Regions from separate parts of the Homo sapiens genome. Here region 1 is linked to region 2. Evidence: promoter capture Hi-C in human tissues and cell types (Jung and others, 2019). All regions are on one chromosome and are shown on one strand. Each heading gives the region's core, a stretch centred on a gene start or on the middle of the fragment in contact. The rest is flanking DNA. Distances are from core to core; before and after follow the strand shown. Region 1 holds the start of CD79B (CD79b molecule). Region 2 holds the start of CSH2 (chorionic somatomammotropin hormone 2).

Region 1 (3,536 bases), core at 589-3,088, 59 kb before region 2:
CTGCCCCCCACCAACCTCCGTGCCCCCTACAGTCCGCTGAGCCCTAGGACCAGCTCCAGAGTAGGCCCCACACCACAGGGTCCAGGCAACACACCTGTGTGAGCATGCACATACACACACACACACACCCCCCACAAACACGTGTGCCCCAAGCCTTTCCCAGTTATACCCCCCAACTTTGGGGAGACACTAGCCCCAAAGTTAATGAAGGACTCTGTCGTTAGGGGCTCAGGAAGAGTATTTCCTAAACCATGAGACTCCCAGATTTTGCCCCACTCCCCCCGGGTCAGTCTCTCTCCAGCCACCCTCACCAGCATGCGGGCCCATGGGCCTCAAGCTGACCTCAGGTGATGTTTATATTTCTGAGCTGTTTATTCCATGAACTGAACATCTGACAGCTTTTCAGAGAAATGTTTTTTCATTTGGAACATCTGGAAACAAGAAAGAACATCTGGGGCTGCCCGGAACGGGCTGTTCCTCGGATGAAACCTTAACCCTCCTGCCCCTGACTTCCGTGGCTCAGGTCCTGGCCTGCACCCCTTGAGAGTGGCCCCCACCTTATCAGGTCCGAGGCCTAGGCCAAGATCTAAAGAGGGACCACCCAGACCCTCTGCCTTCCAACCATGGCATGGGAGGTGGTTCTGCTTCTCCCTAAATCCAGACAGACCTGCCCCAGCACAGACTGGAAAACGGAGGGTTGTGAGGAGAGTGAGAGGTGGACAGAGGGCACCGACGATTTAGCATCTCTTCCTCTCCTGGGGGTCGAGGATGAGAGACAAAAAAGAAGCTGCCAGGAAACATAAAATTCAGAGGGCTCAGCTGCAGGGCTGAGGTCTGCAAGCATGCTGTGTACACTTGTGCATGTTGTGCCCTGCACAAGGGCATCTCTGAAGGGGCTGCATTGGACCCAGGGGCAGGGGCGCAAAGGTGAGTTTATATCAGTTCCTGAGCACTGTGGCTCCATCCAGCACTCTGAGGACAGGCAGGATACAGCTGGAGGACCTGAGGGCTCCCCCACACCAGCTCCTGTTCCCTGCCCAAGACCCCCTGGACCTGCAGACAACAATTCAACGCACTCAGAGTCCCACAGTTAAGAACTCCCTGAAGAAGCCCCCAGTGGCTGCGTGGTGGATTTTCGCAAAGCTGTCTCCACCTACATCCACCCTGTTTGGCAGCCCCTACATACTCTTTCACAGCATGAGGAAGGGAGGCCTCTCACCAAGACCTGGACTGAATCTTCTCCCAGTGGCTGCCACACTTGACCTGCTCTTGCTCCAGAACCTCTGTGGCTCCCATCCTCCACAGGGTCAACTTCCAACATGGCTGCCTGCACTCCAGCCAAGAGGCTCTGCTCTGGGCCCCTCCAGATGCCTGACCTGGGTCTGTGGCTGCCCTGTCCTTCTTCAGTGCTCCTCTTCCCGCTGGGTGAGGAATAGTTCAGGACAGAGGAGCTAAGTTCAGGTTCATTCATAGGACAGGTGCCTATTTCGCTCACGGCCCAGGAATAGAGACTTGCCGGGCTCGGCCCTTCGGGGAGTTGGCAGACGGCAGAGGGGAGGCTGGCTGGCCCAGGGGATGACCACCGGTGGGGTAAGCACAGACAGAGGGGAGCACAGGCTTCCCCCAGAAGACTGAGAGGCCCCCCAGAGGCATCCACAGAGGACCCCAGCTGTGCTGCCCAAGCTGGGCGACCGCCAAACCTTAGCGGCCCAGCTGACAAAAGCCTGCCCTCCCCCAGGGTCCCCGGAGAGCTGGTGCCTCCCCTGGGTCCCAATTTGCATGGCAGGAAGGGGCCTGGTGAGGAAGAGGCGGGGAGGGGACAGGCTGCAGCCGGTGCAGTTACACGTTTTCCTCCAAGGAGCCTCGGACGTTGTCACGGGTTTGGGGTCGGGGACAGAGCGGTGACCATGGCCAGGCTGGCGTTGTCTCCTGTGCCCAGCCACTGGATGGTGGCGTTGCTGCTGCTGCTCTCAGGTACAGAACCCACGACGAGGCCTGTGGGGTTTGCTCTCATCTCCAGCTGTCTGGGCCCTGCGGCTCTGCCTCCTGCTTGCTCCACCCTCCTCCTCTGTCTCTCACTCTTTACCGCCTGTCTCCCTCTCATGGCCCTGGGGCCTGGGTCTGTGGGTGTCAGCTGCACGTGGTGATGGGCTCAGGAGCCTGTGGCCCCAGTTCCTCTCCTGCCTGGAGAGCATCAGGCTGAGCTGGGCATGAGGAGCAAACCAGAGTTAGCAACCAGGACCGTGGAAGAACTAGGCTCAGGAGGAAGAGAGGCTGAGGGCGGTGCCTGGGGGTCGGGAGGGGAGAGGCTGTCCCAACCGGACCCTGGAAGATGCAAGATCCAAATGTGGTCCCCTCCTCTGGGAGGTGAAAGATCCTCCGGGCTGTGACTTTCTTCCTGTCTCTCTTTAAAAAAAAAAAAAAAAAGAGAGACAGGGTGTCCCTATGTTGCCCAGGCTGGTCTCAAACTCCTGGACCCAAGCGATCCTCCTGTCTTGGCCTCTCAAAATACTGAGATTTCCCTGTCCCTCCTGTCTCATTCAGATGCCTGCTCAAAGCCACCATGAGGGTCAAAGGCAGAAAGGGGGCTGGGGGCAGGGCTTCCGGTACCCCCACCCCATATCTGTCTCCCAAGTACTGGGGGCAGGGAGGACCGAGGGGTCTTGAAGCTGCTGTCATGGAAGGAGGAAGTAGCTCCGGGAACATAGAGGGCATGCAGGGGTGGGGCAGCCCAGGCCAGAGGAGGCCCTGACTGGCCCCGCCCACTTCCTCCCACCCAGCAGCTGAGCCAGTACCAGCAGCCAGATCGGAGGACCGGTACCGGAATCCCAAAGGTCAGTAGCCTCGCCTGCCGCTTCTGAGGGCAAGTTGTGTGCGACTATGTCCTGTGTCCGACTATGGTCCCTGTCCTGGGGGCGGTCCGCCTTCCCACCCTTGCCTGATCTCCCCATCCAGGATTCCCATCCCCAGGCCTCCTTAGGATCTCCTCTGAGCCCCACCCCCAGCCCACTGTCATCCTCATCAGACACATGCCCTCCAGCCTTGGCCACTGAAGGGCTGGGCTAAACTCTGGGTCATAGCAAGGGAGCCTGGGGGTTCCTCTAGGACTCAGGCCCGGGCCTGTCTAGCTGGGAATCTGGCTGAGTCTCGGGTGAGCCCTCCAGTGCAGGGTCACTATGTGAGGGGCTCAGGGATTCCCGGGCAGTGCTCACTAAGAACAAGGCAGTCGAAGCTGGAAAGAGGGTTCTGGAACAAGAAGTGGACCCAGTCCCTGCAGGAGGGAAGAGGGGGATGATAGAGGGAAGTCATGCAGGGAGGGGGTCGACTGAGGAAGGTCTCAGTTGACAGACTAGGAATTTGGCCTTTATCCCTGGAGGAACGGGGGAGACTGAGGATTTCAAGCCTGTGCAGGGCAGCCCAGTGAAAGGAGGGGCCAGGCCTGTGGGCCTCCAGGTCCTGGGGGTGTGGCCTGGGTCAGGCTGTTGTAATGGGCATAGGAAGGAATGGCAAGGTCCCAGGGCTCTTCCAAAGGAAAA
Region 2 (3,568 bases), core at 1,060-3,559:
AGAGAGATTTAGAAGCTGAAATAACTGGGTTGGGGGCGGTGACTCACGCCATTAATCTCAGTACTTTGGGAGGCCAGGGAGGGTGGATCACCTAAAGTCAAGAGTTCGAGACCAGCCTGGCCAACATAGTGAAACCCCGTCTCTACTAAAAAAGTACAAAACTTAGCCCGGCATAGTGGTGGGCACCTGTAATCCCAGCTACTTGGGAGGCTGAGGCGGGAGAATCACTGGAACCCAGGAGGTGGAGGTTGCAGTGAGGCAAGATCATGCCACTGCACTCCAGCCTGGGAGACAGAATGAGACTCCATCAAAAACAAGAAAGAAAGAAAGAAGGAAGGAAGGAAAGAAGGAAGGAAGGAAGAAAGGAAGGAAGGAAAGAAAGAAAGAAAGAAAGAAAGAAAGAAAGAAAGAAAGAAAGAAAGAAAGAAAGAAAAAGAAAGAAAGAAGGAAGGAAGGAAAGAAGGAAGGAAGGAAGAAAGGAAGGAAGGAAAGAAAGAAAGAAAGAAAAAGAAAGAAAGAAAGAGAAAGAAAAAGGAAAGCAAGAAAGAAAAGAAAGAAAGAAAGAAAGAAAAAGAAAGAAGGAAAGAAAAGAAACTAAAATAACTAAATAACTGAGTAGCACCACACCACCTGCTCTGGAGAAAGGACTTTTGTTGTTGTTGTTGTTGTTGTCGTCGTTGTTGTGGTTGTTGAAATGGAGTCTCACTCTGGCGCCCAGGCTGGAGTGCCATGGCCCAATCTTGGCTCACGGCAACCTCTGCGTCCTGGGTTCAAGCGATTCTACCTCCTCACCCTCCGGAGTAACTGGGATTGCAGGCTTCTGCCACCACACACAGCTACTTTTGTACTTTTAAGAGATGGAGTTTTGCCATGTTGGCTAGTCTGGCCTTGAACTGACCTCAAGTGATCCACCCACCTCAGTCTTCCAAAGTGCTGGGATTACAGGCATGAGCCACCGTGCCCGGCCTGGAGAAAGGACTTTAAATGATGCAATGTGGGAAGAGCAAGGTTGTGGAGATCTGCTGCCCTGGCTGAGGTAGCTCATGTAATCAGTCTCTCTGAGCCTCAGTCTCCTGATCTGTGAAATGGGATGATACTCATACCTCCTACACAAGACAAGTGGCAGATCAGACGTGAGAATGCACAGGCAGGCCTTTGACAACTGGATAAGCTCTACACAGGTCTGGAAAGGAGGAAGAGACAAAAGAGGACGGGCTTCCATGGCTGGATAGGGCATCTTTCGGCGTGATGTGTTCTGAGTTCCAAAGCTGGGAAGAGACTCAAATCTTTTTTTTCTTTTTTTTTAATTATTATTATTCTTTTACTTTAAGTTTTAGGGTACATGTGCACAATGTGCAGGTTAGTTACATGTGTATACCTGTGCCATGCTGGTGTGCTGCACCCATTAACTTGTCATTTAGCATTAGGTATATCTCCTAAAGCTATCCCTCCCCCCTCCCCCCACCCCACAACAGTCCCCAGAGTGTGATGTTCCCCTGAGACTCAAATCTTCAAGAGCTCTTCCAACCTTGAGATTCTCTGATGGTTTCAGGGCTGTGGGAGGAAGCGCTTGTGGTCCGTGTCTGTTCCCGGGATTTCTGTTTCTTGGTTTGTGTCTCTGCTGCAGGTCCAAGGAGCTGAGGCAATACCTTGAGTCTGGGTTCTTCGTCCCCAGTGACCTGGGGGAGCCCCACCGCCTCCGCCCCAAGGTTCAGGGAAAGGGGAGAGCAATGTGTGGGGTTGGTTCTCTCTAGTGGTCAGTGTTAGCACTGCATCCAGCTGACTCAGGTGGGCCCAGGAGTCATCAGCAAAAGTGGAATTCAGGACTCAATGGTGCTCAGAACCCCCACAATCTATTGGCTGTGCTTGGCCCCTTTTCCCAACACACACATTCTGTCTGGTGGGTGGAAGTTAAACACGCGGGGAGGAGGAAAGGAATAGGATAGAGAGTGGAATGGGGTCGGTAGGGGTCTCAAGGACTGGCTATCCTGACAGCCTTCCCCGCATTCAGGTTGACCAACATGGCCTGCGGCCAGAGGGCACCCACCTGACCCTTAAAGAGAGGACAAGTTGGGTGGAGTCTGTGGCTGACACTCTGTGCACAATCCTTACAACACTGGTGATGGTGAGAAGGGAAAGACGACAAGCCAGGGGGCATGATCCCAGCATGTGTGGGAGGAGCTTCCAAATTATCCATTAGCACAAGCCCGTCAGTGGCCCCATGCATAAATGTACACAGAAACAGGTGGGGTCAAGCAGGGAGAGAGAACTGGCCAGGGTATAAAAAGGGCCCACAAGAGACCGGCTCTAGGATCCCAAGGCCCAACTCCCCGAACCACTCAGGGTCCTGTGGACAGCTCACCTAGCGGCAATGGCTGCAGGTAAGCGCCCCTAAAATCCCTTTGGGCACAACGTGTCCTGAGGGGAGAGGCAGCGCCCTGTAGATGGGACGGGGGCACTAACCCTCAGGTTTGGGGCTTATGAATGTGAGTATCGCCATCTAAGGCCAGATATTTGGCCAATCTCTGAATGTTCCTGGTCTCTGGAGGGATGGAGAGAGAGAAAAAAACAAACAGCTCCTGGAGCAGGGAGAGCGCTGGCCTCTTCCTCTCCGGCTCCCTCCATTGCCCTCCGGTTTCTCCCCAGGCTCCCGGACGTCCCTGCTCCTGGCTTTTGCCCTGCTCTGCCTGCCCTGGCTTCAAGAGGCTGGTGCCGTCCAAACCGTTCCGTTATCCAGGCTTTTTGACCACGCTATGCTCCAAGCCCATCGCGCGCACCAGCTGGCCATTGACACCTACCAGGAGTTTGTAAGTTCTTGGGGAATGGGTGCGGGTCAGGGGTGGCAAGAAGGGGTGACTTTCCCCCACTGGGGAAGTAATGGGAGGAGACTAAGGAGCTCAGGGTTGTTTTCTGAAGCGAAAATGCAGGCAGATGAGCATAGGCTGAGCCAGGTTCCCAGAAAAGCAACAATGGGAGCTGGTCTCCAGCATAGAAACCAGCAGTCCTTCTTGGTGGGGGGTCCTTCTCCTAGGAAGAAACCTATATCCCAAAGGACCAGAAGTATTCATTCCTGCATGACTCCCAGACCTCCTTCTGCTTCTCAGACTCTATTCCGACACCCTCCAACATGGAGGAAACGCAACAGAAATCCGTGAGTGGATGCCGTCTCCCCTAGGCGGGGATGGGGGAGACCTGTGGTCAGGGCTCCCGGGCAGCACAGCCACTGCCGGTCCTTCCCCTGCAGAATCTAGAGCTGCTCCGCATCTCCCTGCTGCTCATCGAGTCGTGGCTGGAGCCCGTGCGGTTCCTCAGGAGTATGTTCGCCAACAACCTGGTGTATGACACCTCGGACAGCGATGACTATCACCTCCTAAAGGACCTAGAGGAAGGCATCCAAACGCTGATGGGGGTGAGGGTGGCGCCAGGGGTCGCCAATCCTGGAACCCCACTGGCTTAGAGGGCTGGGGGAGAGAAACACTGCTGCCCTCTTTGTAGCAGTCAGGCGCTGACCCAAGAGAACTCACCTTATTCTTCATTTCGCCTGGTGAATCCTCCAGGCCCTTCTCTA

What was found. The method cuts DNA at HindIII sites, captures the fragments that hold promoters and counts their contacts. A contact is called where the count stands out against the background at its distance.
Region 1: a contact is called between the fragment with the promoter of CD79B here and the fragment with the promoter of CSH2 in region 2, in 1 of the 25 tissues and cell types used here (mesenchymal stem cells).

What each region holds. Positions count from the first base shown.
Region 1 is chr17:63,930,633-63,934,168 of GRCh38, reverse strand. It overlaps CD79B (CD79b molecule), which reads left to right and starts at 1,838. Exons shown (of 6, transcript NM_000626.4): 1 at 1,838-1,974; 2 at 2,784-2,834. The coding sequence starts at 1,908. RefSeq lists enhancers at 183-587, 1,162-1,211, 1,222-1,331, 1,188-1,858, 1,832-2,221 and 2 more and a silencer at 2,919-2,988. The HindIII fragment of the contact is 19,928 bases long and covers 1-3,536 here.
Region 2 is chr17:63,872,418-63,875,985 of GRCh38, reverse strand. CSH2 (chorionic somatomammotropin hormone 2) reads left to right here and starts at 2,309. Exons shown (of 5, transcript NM_020991.4): 1 at 2,309-2,381; 2 at 2,647-2,807; 3 at 3,032-3,151; 4 at 3,245-3,409. The coding sequence starts at 2,372. The HindIII fragment of the contact is 22,462 bases long and covers 1-3,568 here.